Regions from separate parts of the Homo sapiens genome. Here region 2 is linked to region 1. The links are contacts of gene promoters, found by promoter capture Hi-C in human tissues and cell types (Jung and others, 2019). All regions are on one chromosome and are shown on one strand. The core of a region is centred on a gene start or on the middle of the fragment in contact, and the rest is flanking DNA. Distances in the headings are between cores, read along the strand shown.

Region 1 (6,424 bases), core at 2,213-4,712:
GTCGAGATTAGATAATCAAATTAGAGCAATGTTAACTGCCTGATTTTGATAAGTGTACAGTGGTTATGTAACAGAATGTCCTTGGTTTTAAGAACTGCACATCAAAGGGCATCCTGTTTGCCACTTACCTCAAACATTTCAGAGAAAAAAAGTCATATATATACACACACACCTAATTACGTCTTTATAAAATCACATATAGGTATATAGGTGAGATCAGCTGGGGCAACATAGTGAGACCCCATTGCTACAATAAAATAAATAAAAAATTAGCTGGGCCTGGTGGCACATGCCTGTAGTCCCAGCTACTAAGCAGGCTGAGGTGGGAGGATCACTTGAGCCCAGGAGTTCCAGGCTGCAGTAAGCCACTATGCTCCAGCCTGTGTGACAGAGACCCTGTCTCTAAAAAAAAAACTAGAGACTAAGGAGGCCTGAGAAACAAGTTAAAAGCGTAACATGCAATCCTCGACTGGATTCTTGTAGGGGAAAAAACGCCAAAAGGTATAAACACTGATGTTCTCATCACCCAGAATTATACAAATGGTTAATATATTGTCACCTTGCTTTGATTACCATTTTTAAAATTAATTTTCTTTCTTGTTTTTTTTTTAGAGACATGGGTTTCACCATGTTGCCCAGGCTGGTCCTAAACTCCTGAGCTCAAGTGATCCATCTGCCTTGGCCTCCCAAAGTGCTCGGATTACAGGCGTGAGTCACTGCACCCAGCCTGATTAGATGGAGTTTTGCTCTGTCGCCCACGCTGGAGTGCAGTGGTGCGATCTCTGCTCACTGTAAGCTCCACCTCCCGGGTTCACGCCATTCTCCTGCCTCAGCCTCCCGAGTAGCTGGGACTACAGGCACCCGCCACCACGCCCAGCTAATTTTTTGTATTTTTAGTAGAGACGGGGTTTCACCGGTTTAGCCAGGATGGTCTCGATCTCCTGACCTCGTGATCTGCCCGCCTTGGCCTCCCAAAGTGCTGGGATTACAGGCGTGAGCCACCGTGCCCGGCCCTGATTACCATTTTTTAAAAAAGAAATGGAACATTGCAGGTAAGGTTAAACTCTTCTATGACCTCTCTCCGCAGTTCCTGGGTGACAAGAGCGAGAATCTGTCTCAAAAAAAAAAAAAAAAAAAAAAGAAGAAGAAAAAAAATTGTCATCCTTGCGCAGGGGCCATGCTAATCTTCTCCGTATCATTCCAATTTTGGTATACGTGCTGCCAAAGTGACCACTCGATTACCTATTCCAATATAATGAAACCCTGTTTCTACTAAAAATAAAAATAAGATAAAAATAAAAAAAATAGCTGGGTGTTGTGGCGCATGCCTGTAATCCCAGCTACTCAGGAGGCTGAGGCAGGAGAATCACTTGAACCTGGGAGGCGGAAGTTGCAATGAGCCGAGATCGCACCACTGCACTCCAGCCTGAGCGAGAGTGAGGCTGTCTCAAAAAAAAAAAAAAAAGGAAATAGAACATTGCAGGTAAAGTTAAAGTCTTCTTTGACTCCTCTTCTCAGTTCCATCACACTCCTTTCTACCCTTTCTTGAAGCAATAACCATCAGGATATGGTATATAGATCCTTGCAGTCAATTAAAAAAAACAACAAAATACATATATCCAATAGCCAATATGCTTTTGTTTTATGTGTATTTGTAAAAAATATACATAAATGACATTATACTATATATATAATCCCTCTAGATAAAGTTACATATAGTGTTAGGTTTTATGTATTAATTTTTGAAAACAGGGTCTTGCTCTGTCTCCCAGGCTGGAGTGCAATGGTGAGATCATTGCCCATTGCAGCCTGTAACTCCTGGGTTTAAGGGATCCTCCTACCTCGGACTCCCAAAGTGCTGGGATTACAGGTGGCCTAGACTTTATAAAGCTGTTATCACCTCTTTCTTCTTTTCTCAACACTATCCTTTTGACATCTATCTAACCCTGTTGAAACAGATGACCGTCATTCCTTTTAAATGTTATACAGTATTAAATGTTGTGCACATGCGTGAGGCATGAGTTTAACTCTGGGGCCTCTCCCTAGAAATGGAAATCCGGGGTCACAAGCAATGGGCATTCCCGTTTTACTGTTAGATTCTGCTCTCCCGCCAGCAGCGTCTGAGAGGTGCTTGGGGTTCCCCTGAGGGTTCTGGGGGAGCTCGGACTTGCGTTCCCAGCAGGCCGGTTGTCGCCTGCTTTGTGCCTAATTTGCGTCACTGGGGTTCCTAGCGGACTCGCCTGCAAGTGTGCTCAGGACTGCAGGGAGGACTCTTCGGTCACTGCGGCTCTCTCCCCATGGTGGACTCTTCTGAGGCGCTTGACTGCGCTGATTTGGGCCTTTATCTGTCTGCATGTCGGCAGGGGCGCCCAGGAAGTCGGGTCCCTCTAGCTCAAGCTTGTTTGGGCTCTTACAGCTTCAGGCCAACAGGGGGCTGGGAAGCTGAGCACTTACTCATTCCGTCCCCGTTGGTAACTAGGGCTGGTAGACGCGTCCAGACTGCAAACAGTATTTCATCATTTTGTCTGTAGCATGCAGCGGCCAAAGCTGCCAACCTATGAAACGCTTTGAGAAGCCGGACGCTTTGGGAGGCCGAGGCGGGTGGATCCCCTGAGGCCAGCCTGGGAGACATAGTTAGATTCTGTCTCTCAAAAAAATTTTTAAAAAATTACCCCTGATGTGGTGCGCGCCTGTAGTCCCAGCTACTCGGGAGGCTGAGGCGGGAGGATCGCCCGAGCCTGAGAGTTCGAGACCAGCCTGGGCAACGTAGCGAGACTCCGTCTCTTAAAAAAAATAAGTAGCCGTTTTTCTGGGTGGGTGCATCCCTCTCTGGTTCCTCGCTCTCCAACTGGCCCTGGTCCTGGGGGCGTGAAGGCTACGATCTGGAGAGACAGAACAGCGGGCTGCCTCTGGAGGACGGGCCTAGACCCCATTCATTCATTCATTCGTTCTGTCACCCACCCGTCCTGCGCGCACGCGAGCCACCCTAAGCCCCAGGACCTCAAGAACCCCCACCCCACGGGGCACAGACAAGGACAGGCTGGCCAGCGCCTGGAAGCCGCGTGCCTGACCACGTCTGCCCGAGCGAGTACCGCCTCCCACCCGGGAGGCAGGAGAGCCGCGACCGTCGGGCCGCGCCCAACGTCTCCCGCTCAGGGGCGCGCCGCCTCGCTTTCAGCGCATGCGCGCCCGGGAGCCCGCCCGGGGCGTCGGCGCACGCGGTCCCCACCGGCCGGCTTGCGTACGCGCTCCCGGCTCGCCCTCCCACGCGGTCCACCGCGCCTCCCGCCCCACCCTAAGCGCAGCGACCGCCCGAGCGGCCGACCGAACCGCGTTGCGTGCGTGCGCGCACGCGCGGGCCACGTGGGCGGGCGCCGCGCCGTTGCCCCGCCCCTTGCAACCCCGCCCCGCGCCGGCCCCGCCCCTGCTCTCGCGCCGGCGTCGGCTGCGTCTCCGGCGTTTGAATTGCGCTTCCGCCATCTTTCCAGCCTCAGTCGGACGGGCGCGGAGACGCTTCTGGAAGGTATCGCGACCCGGCGGGCCCGGCACGGCCGGGCGGGGACAGGGGTGGCGGCGGCGGGATAGGGGTCGGAGCCGGGGCCAGGGCCGGGGCGGGTGGCGGACCCAGGGGCAGCGGGCGGCTGAGTAGGTGGGTGGTGCGGGCCCGGCCGGGCCGGGGCAGGAGACGGGCGTGGGGTCGGCGCTAGCCCCCGCGAACCCCCGTTTCATCCTCCGCTCTCATCCCCGTCCCGGTCCCAGTCCCGTTCCCATCCCTACACCTCCGGCCGCCGTTCCCCGGGCCCCGCCGCCCCGGATGCCGGCCCCGCCCGCCGCCTTCCCGCTCCCAGGCCTGGCCGCCATGGCGCCGCGGGCGGGAGGCCTTTGTGGGGCGGGCACGTGGGGCGCTGGGGGCGCGGGAGCGGGGCCGCCATGGGCTGCGGGGCCGCGCGAGCGCTCGCCTCCGTCCTCTGCCTCCGCAGGAACGCCGCGATGGCTGCGCAGGGAGAGCCCCAGGTCCAGTTCAAAGTAGGTAACCCTGCGGGGCGGGAGGCGGCCGAGCCCGACCGCGTGCGACTCGCGGGTCCCTCCTCCTGGGGCCACGATGGCTGTAATGGGGCCCCGCATCCACATTCTTTGTTTTAAGTGAGCCTGTGGTGGTTAAAGTTCCGTGACTCTGGGATCTTGAGAGGTGAAGTGTTTAGGGTTTACTTCCAAAATGTGTTTTTCAACAGCTTGTATTGGTTGGTGATGGTGGTACTGGAAAAACGACCTTCGTGAAACGTCATTTGACTGGTGAATTTGAGAAGAAGTATGTAGGTATGTGCTGGAAAACCTTGCTTGTGGAAATATGTGAGAAATGGGTAAGTTCATCCACTCAATCGCATCGTTTCCGTTTCAGCCACCTTGGGTGTTGAGGTTCATCCCCTAGTGTTCCACACCAACAGAGGACCTATTAAGTTCAATGTATGGGACACAGCCGGCCAGGAGAAATTCGGTGGACTGAGAGATGGCTATTATATCCAAGGTAGGCATTTGTAACTTGCTGAACGGTTTTTGAGAGGTTTTGTGTACTTCAGTCTTCAAGGTTATAGAAAATCAGGTCTGTTCCAACAAATAGTGTCATTTTTGGGTTAAAAAAAGACAAGTGGACTTCGGGGAGTTGACCACCATTTTGGTGGCAGAGAAAATTTTATTAAAGTTGTGTCATTTGCATGCTGTGTCATGCTAGGCATGCTTTAGAAAAAACTATGACTTACACTGGGACTTATAAGTCATATTTAAAACAATAATAGGCTGTTAACAGCAGTTTCAGTATTTGGAAACTTAGGTTCATGTATGTATTTTGGTGTGGTGATCAATGAATGTTTTTACTGTATTAGAAAACAATAAACACCAGATACTAGACCAGAGGAGATAGGAGATCTTAACAAGTGTTATACAAGACTAGCTGATTTCTTGTTAAATTGTTTGTACTAAGTTGTGCAGAGTATTTTTCTCAAATAGTTTGATTTAAAAATTGCAAGGAAAATGTTCATTGTACCAAAAAGAGGAATCAAGAAAATACTCATCTCTCTTGGAACCTCACGTTGCCGATAACACATTATCTGGAATCATTCCATGCCTTTTGCTTTCCTTGAGCATGTACAAATAAACACAAGAATTTCCCCCAAAAGAATCCTTTAACCAAAAAGTTGTGGTTTCTTGCCTTGCTAACTGTACCATAGTTATTCCTGCAGGTGAATATATAGGCTTTATCTGGGTTATTTATTTATTTAATTTTTTTTTGAGACAGGGTTTCGCTCTGTTGCCCAACCTGGAGTGCAGCTTCCGCCTCCTAAGCTCAAGCCATCCTCTTACCTCAGCATCCTGAGTAGCTTGGACTATAGGCACGTGCCACTATGCCTGACTAATTTTTGTATTTTTTTGTAGAGATGGGGATTCACCATGTTGCCCATGCTGGTCTGGAACTCATGAGCTCAGGTGATCCACCCACCTCAGCCTCTCAAAGTGCTGGGATTACAGACGTGAGCCACATTGCTTGGCCTATCTGGATTTTTTAAGACAGGAATAATGTTTTCCAGTATAGCCAGCCATTTAAAGACCTTCTGAAGAATGTGTTTCCAGGCCCTACCCTCAGAATATGGCAGCTTGGTTATCCAGAATCTCATTTAGCATTAATTACTTCAGATACTTTTTTGGGATGAGGGGAGTATTAATGGTGAAGTATATCAGGGAGATTTGATAGGGTCAGCTCATCTCTCTTAGGAGGAATTGTGTATTAACATTTTTAGAATTGACAGAGACCTTGAAAGTGAGGGGAGAGATACAGGTGACTCGTTGAGGTCTAAGACTATAACTAGTTGAATCCTAGTCTCTGGTTCTTAGCATTCTTCACTTGTGCAGTAAACTGAGTGTACTAATTCCCACAAATGTTTCTTCAGCCCAGTGTGCCATCATAATGTTTGATGTAACATCGAGAGTTACTTACAAGAATGTGCCTAACTGGCATAGAGATCTGGTACGAGTGTGTGAAAACATCCCCATTGTGTTGTGTGGCAACAAAGTGGATATTAAGGACAGGAAAGTGAAGGCGAAATCCATTGTCTTCCACCGAAAGAAGAATCTTCAGGTGTGTAAAATTAAAACTTCCTGAGTTATTTCTCTTAGCGGAGATTATATGTAAGACCATGAAATTAACCAGTGTCTATTATATATGGAAATGATTTTTTTTTCCCCAAGACGGAGTCTTCCTCTGTCCCCCATGCTGGAGTGCAGTGTCGCAATCTTGGCTCACTGCGACCTCCGCCTCCCGGGTTCAAGCAGTTTTGTCTCAGCTCCCCTAGTAGCTGGATTACAGGTGTGTACCACCACGCCTGGCTAATTTTTGTACTTTTTTTTCTAGTAGAGACGGGGTTTCCACCAT
Region 2 (5,641 bases), core at 1,139-3,638, 1.0 Mb after region 1:
CTGAGGCAGGAGAAAGGCGTGAACCTGGGAGGCGGAGCTTGCAGTGAGCCAAGATAGCGCCACTGCACTCCAGCCTGGGCGAAAGAGCGAGACTCCGTCTCAAAAAAAAAAAAAAGAAAATAGGACACAAAGAAGGGAACAAGAGACACCAGGTCCCACTTGAGGGTGGGAGGGTGGGAGGAGGGAGAGAGGATCAAAAAACTACTTATCGGGTACTCTGCTTATTACCTGGGTGATGAAATAATCCGTTCATCAAACCCTGTGAAACATAATTTACCTGTATAACAAACCTGTCCACACACCACTGAACCTAAAAGTTATAAAAAGAATAAAAAATTTAATAAGACCGCACAAAACAAAAAAGAAACATGTCCTTCCTCGGTGGGCCTAGTAACGGTTTCCAAATGCAAATCCCATCTTGCCATCCCACCCTCTCCTAAACTCTTCCTGGGTATTTCTTTGAGTTTGGGGTGAAGACCCCGTTAGCTTGGCTTTCCAGGCCAGGGTGGGCTGGGCTGGGGTTCCCTGAGTACTTTCCAGGAGTACAGGCTTCGCCATCTCTAGCAATCTCGGCCCTCACGGTCTGCCCTGATCACCTCAGCACGTAGCCACCTGTTCACTCATTTTTCTCTTGCAATTTTGCCACGGGTGGTGCAATCTTTGCTCTTCTTGTCCCCCACCCCTAAGCGCTGGGAGCTCCTGCAGGCGGGTCTTGTTCTCACTGTGTCAACTGCAGCACTTACCTCGCAGCGTGTGCTCTCTGGGCAGGCCGGTGTGCAGCAGGCACTCCAGGATGTGAGTGAATGCTATGGCTGACTACGGGGCACTGTGGAACCTCTTTATTGGGAAAACAAACATGGTGGGCCAGGAGACCTCTTGTCCCTTCCAGCTCGGTGGCTTCTGGCCCCCAGTCCAGGGTCGGGAGTCTGTGTGTCCTGCGGCCTGGAGGATGAGCTGGGTGCAGGTAAAAGGCATCCAGGACTTGCTGATCCAGCCCAGGGCATCAGGCTGTCCAGCTGCTGGGCTGCTCTGGGAGGCAGCATGGAGGGTCCTGGCTGAAGTGTGTGTTTCTGGGCTGTTACTTTAGGACTGTACTGAAGGCTGGGTTGGTGAGCATTGTTTAGAATCATGCATTTGCAAAAGCAGTGCTTGCACGTGGTGAAAGCCATTCCAACTAGCGCGCAACGTGTACGGTGAACAGCACTAACTTTTCCCCGGTCCTCTCTCCCAGAGCAATCGCTGTTGGCTGTGTCTTCTGTGAGTGAGCCCCCGGGCTCTTTTGGCTGCCGGCGGTGTGACTTTGGACACATTCTCCAACTTTTCTCCGCCTTGATTTCCTCATCTGTAAAACAGGGACATAACAGCAAGTGCCTCGTGGAATCATTGAATGGATGCACTAATCGCTGGAAAGTGCGCTGCTTGGCCTAAGTGATGAGTTAGCTGTCATTATAGTTAGGAACGACCATGTACACATTACAGGCGTTTCACACACACACACATCCCAATCCTACCGCTTTCTTAAAACGACAGACAGTACAGTGCCCTGTTCCATATTTTGCTTTTACTTAATTATAATCTTTGGAGAACTCACCCTTGAGCACAGGTATATTTACCTCTGTGCAGTGTTCCACAGGACCGATGCGCAGCCCATCTAGCTAACCTTTCCTCCCCAGCGGATTTATGGGCTATGTCGTTGGTTTGGGTGACAACTTTTTGGTCTACAATTTTTTTTTTTTTTTTTGCAATTTGGCATTATGGAACTCAACTTTAAATGCCTAACCTCTAACTCAGCCATTCTATTTCTAAGAATTAATTCTGCGCAGTCCCCCGTTTTGGGAACATTTCCCACGCCTGTTCTCCATTCTCCTGTAGAAGGGGAACAGGGAGCGGGAAGGAGGGGAACAGGGAAGGGGAGGGAGGGGAACAGGGAGGGGGGACAGGAGGGAGGAGAACAGGCAGTGGGGGCGGGAGGGGAGCGGGGGGGAAGGCATGGGAGGGGGCGGAAGGGAGGGGGCAGGGAGGGAGAGAGGTGATGGGAAGGGGAAAAGGAGGGAGGAGGACGGAGAGAGGGGAAAGGAGGGAGGGGAGCAGAGAAGAAGCGGGGCGGGGAAGGGGCGGGGAAGGGGCGTGGAAGGGAGTGGGGCAAGGAATCAACACTGAGCCCCGTGGCCCGCTCCCGGGTCAGCGCGCCTCTCTGCTCTCACCGGGGCGGGTCCGCTGTTGGCCCCACCCACTCCCAGCCCACCCGGCCCCGCAATGGCCCGGCCCAGCCGCCCACCCCCCCGACAGGCCCCGCCCCATTCCCCGCCCCCCGTCTGTTCGTCACGCCCGGCTCTGCCGCTCCGTCCCGCAGGCCCCGCCCTCATCCCGCCTCCCGGCCCGGCGCGCAGTGCGGCTGCGCGGGCGTCTCAGGCTCTGAGGCCCGGGCGCCGCGGCTCTTTTGTTTCTCCGTTGGGGCCGAGCCCGGGCCCTAGTTGGAGCCGGAGTCGGAGTCGGAGTCGGATCCGGATTCGGATTAGCAGCCCGGGAAGAGTGCCGTGGCACAGGCGCCGGAGGGAGCGCGACCCTCGGACCCCGCCTGGCCCGCGGGGCTGGGACCCGGCCCCGGCCTGCCCGATGGGGCGCGCGGCCCCGGAGATGCGCCCTCGCCCGGCCCCGCGCCCCCGGCCCCGCGCCCCCGGCCCGCCCGCCCCGGCCCGCGCCTCCGCCTGAGTCCCCCGCGCCTTGGCCCGCCACCCCCCGCCCCGCGCCCCCGGCCCGCCTGCGCCATGGAGCCCGGCCGCGGCGGCACAGAGACCGTGGGCAAGTTCGAGTTCTCCCGCAAGGACCTGATCGGCCACGGCGCCTTCGCGGTGGTCTTCAAGGGCCGCCACCGCGAGGTGAGGCCCCCGTCCGGCCCGGGATCCCCCGCCCAGGATCCCCTGCCCCTGCATCCCCGCCCCGAGATTCCCCGCCTGTCCCGGGACCCCCCCACGCCTCCCGAGAGCCCCACTCGACTTTCCAGGCCGACCCCCACCCCAGGATCCCCACCCCGCGACCCCCAGCCCGACTTTCCAGTTCAGACTCCCGCCCCGAGATCCGCTGCCGGGCTTTCCAGCCCAGATCCTCACTCCGAGACCCCCAGCCCGACTTTCCTGTCCAAACCCTCACCCCGGGACACCCCGCAACCTGGTCCCACAGCCGGCTTTCGAGGCTGGATCCCTACCCCAGGACCCCCAGCGCGATCCTCAACCTGGCTCCCCACTCGGCCTTCCAGTCCCGGGATTCCCAACCGGGATCATCTCAGGGCCCCACCTGTGTGGACTGGGGTCTGGGGGAGGCCTGCGAGGGGCAGCCCTGGCCTTGAAGGTGCACGTTTGGCTTTCAGAAGCACGATTTGGAGGTCGCCGTCAAGTGCATTAACAAGAAGAACCTCGCCAAGTCTCAGACGCTGCTGGGGAAGGAAATCAAAATCCTGAAGGTGAGCCAGTGCTGGGGGAGGGGGCGTGGGCGTGGGCGTGGGCAAGCCCCCCTCCCCACACTGATAACAAACTTGGGTTTCTGTCCTAGGAACTGAAACATGAAAACATCGTGGCCCTGTACGACTTCCAGGTAAGGCCTCTGGGCTGCGGTCTGCTGGGGACCGGGCTGGGGGACTGTGGCCCCAGGTGCTGGATCCCCTGGTGAGCACTGGTGTTGAGCCTGTCCAGGCTGGGGTCTACTGGGCCCCTGGAGACTCCACCCTGGGTCCAGGCCTGGGCTGGTGCTGGCTCTTGCTGTGACTTCCCCAGCTGTGAGACCGGGGAGGGGGTGTCTGGGCCGCAGGGCGCCCCAGGGCAGGGCTGAGTTCTCCTGAACAGGCATCCCCTCCCCGCCGGGCGTCAGTCCTAGGGGCCCTGCCTGAGTCCGGCGTCCCCGGCTGGCCCTGGCAGCACTGCCGGCCTGGCCCACCTGTCTAGGCCGTGTGTTTGTTGACATTGCTCCTGCGGCCGGCATTGGCCGGCCTCGCTCTGCGTCAGACGGGGCGGGGGAGGGGCCGCCGGAGACTCCTGCTCGCTGGCAGTCAGGGCCGGGCCGGGGCACAGGCGGCTGCCGCTGGCTGGCCAAGGAGATGACCTCGGGCCCGGCTGGCCCCAAGAAGCAAGCGGTGGGACCAGCTGGCTTTCGTGCTGCCTCCGTGTCCCGGGGCCCAGGGCAGGCAGGGCTGGGGCTGTGGGAGCCAGGGTGCCGTCCTGGGGACCAGGAACCTGAGGCGGGAGATCCGCCCCGCCAAAGTGCTGACTAATGGCTCTGTGACCTGTTTACTGAGCCCAGGGCCCAGCCCCTGGCTGAGGGAAGGGCTGGCAGGCCGTGTTTTGGTGGCCTCCTCCGTCCGCCTCTCAGAGCTTTGCTGTGGCCTTGGGGACCGAGGCTTGTCACAAGGTGCCGGGTGGGGGGGGCCCAGGTCCAGCGAGTACCTGGAAACCCAGGCACACTGTGTCCTGGAGCTGGGCCATCCCTCCTGCTGCTTTTCCCGCCCTCTTCCCACCCCTTTTCTCCCTGCTTTCCTCCCTCCCTTCCTCCTCTTTCCTCATCCTCTCCATGTTTGGAAGCCTCCTGCCTGGACCACAGCCTGCACATGCGTCATGGCTCTGGGAGCCAGCAAGGAGTGGACAGCTGTCCCTGGCCAGGCAGCGACTCTGAGGGACTCCCCCTCCACCCTGGGCTACACTGCCTGCTGCTCCCCTCCAGGGCTCCCCAGGTCCAGTCCTGGGCATCTCCAGGCCAGGCCCTGTGACTGTCCGCACGACCCCCGCAGACCCGGGACCAGTATCCCCAGGCCCAGCTCCATCCCAGTCAGCCACACACACCTGGTTGTGGGCATCTGCCACTTCCTCCAGTGTTGGCAACTCTGCGGCTTTCTCTACTCAGGAAGCACTTGGAGCCGCCAGCTGCAGGCGCTCCTGTCTCCGGGCACCGGGCTCTGCTGGAGCTGCAGCTTAGCCTGCCCTCGCCCCCACAGGCGTGGGGATTGTTGCCCTGTGTCGGTAAGGCAATGTTTGAGGCAGGCACCCAAACCCAGGAAAAAATAACTGGGTTTTAAAAATGGACAATGAACGATTTGGGTGATAAAAGAAAATCCTCAAACATTACGGGAGGGAGTGCGGTCGAGGCTAGAGTCCTGCCCCCGATCGAGTCCCGCTGCCCTCCGTTCTCAGGCCCCTGCTTTAGTTGTTTCCGGGCCACCGGGGACAGCCATCCTTACAAGGCGATGTGTTCACCGGTGTCCTTCCCCGCCACACCCACCTCTCTGCGCCGTGAATTTTGTCACTTAAGAGTATAGTTTGCACTCCATCCAGCCTGGGCGACTGAGCGAGGCCCTGTCTCTAAAAGAGTAGAGCTTGGGGAAGGTTCTGTGCTGGCTCAATCCATATCAGAAAGTTTACCCCTCGGCCAGGCACAGTGGATCACACCTGTGACCCTAGCACTGTGGGAGGCCAAGACAGACCAGCCTGGGCAACATAGCAAGACTCGCTCTCTCTAAAAAAAAGAAAAAAAAAGAAAAAAAATTAGCCAGGCATAGTGGCATGTCTCAGCTACTATAAAGGTTGTAGGAGGATTGATTAAACCCAGGAGTTTAAGGCTGCAGTGAGCCGTGATGTTGCCACCGCGTTCCAGCCTG

Evidence for each region. Contacts are between HindIII fragments. The study calls those that stand out against the background at their distance.
Region 2: a contact is called between the fragment with the promoter of ULK1 here and the fragment with the promoter of RAN in region 1, in 2 of the 25 tissues and cell types used here (dorsolateral prefrontal cortex and hippocampus).

What each region holds. Positions count from the first base shown.
Region 1 is chr12:130,868,604-130,875,027 of GRCh38, forward strand. RAN (RAN, member RAS oncogene family) reads left to right here and starts at 3,463. Exons shown (of 7, transcript NM_006325.5): 1 at 3,463-3,523; 2 at 3,981-4,026; 3 at 4,233-4,317; 4 at 4,400-4,525; 5 at 5,943-6,130. The coding sequence starts at 3,991. It also overlaps the pseudogene RNU6-1077P. RefSeq lists enhancers at 2,503-3,264, 2,688-2,767, 3,265-4,026, 5,255-5,324 and silencers at 3,048-3,507, 3,578-3,717, 3,768-3,977. The HindIII fragment of the contact is 9,011 bases long and covers 468-6,424 here.
Region 2 is chr12:131,892,234-131,897,874 of GRCh38, forward strand. ULK1 (unc-51 like autophagy activating kinase 1) reads left to right here and starts at 2,389. Exons shown (of 28, transcript NM_003565.4): 1 at 2,389-2,879; 2 at 3,368-3,460; 3 at 3,550-3,591. The coding sequence starts at 2,769. It overlaps LOC124903059 (a long non-coding RNA gene), which reads right to left and starts at 1,925. Exons shown (of 2, transcript XR_007063538.1): 1 at 1,614-1,925; 2 at 825-1,342. RefSeq lists silencers at 2,059-2,108, 2,139-2,648, 3,716-3,865, 3,791-4,085, 4,056-4,115 and 1 more and an enhancer at 4,573-5,370. The HindIII fragment of the contact is 30,695 bases long and covers 1-5,641 here.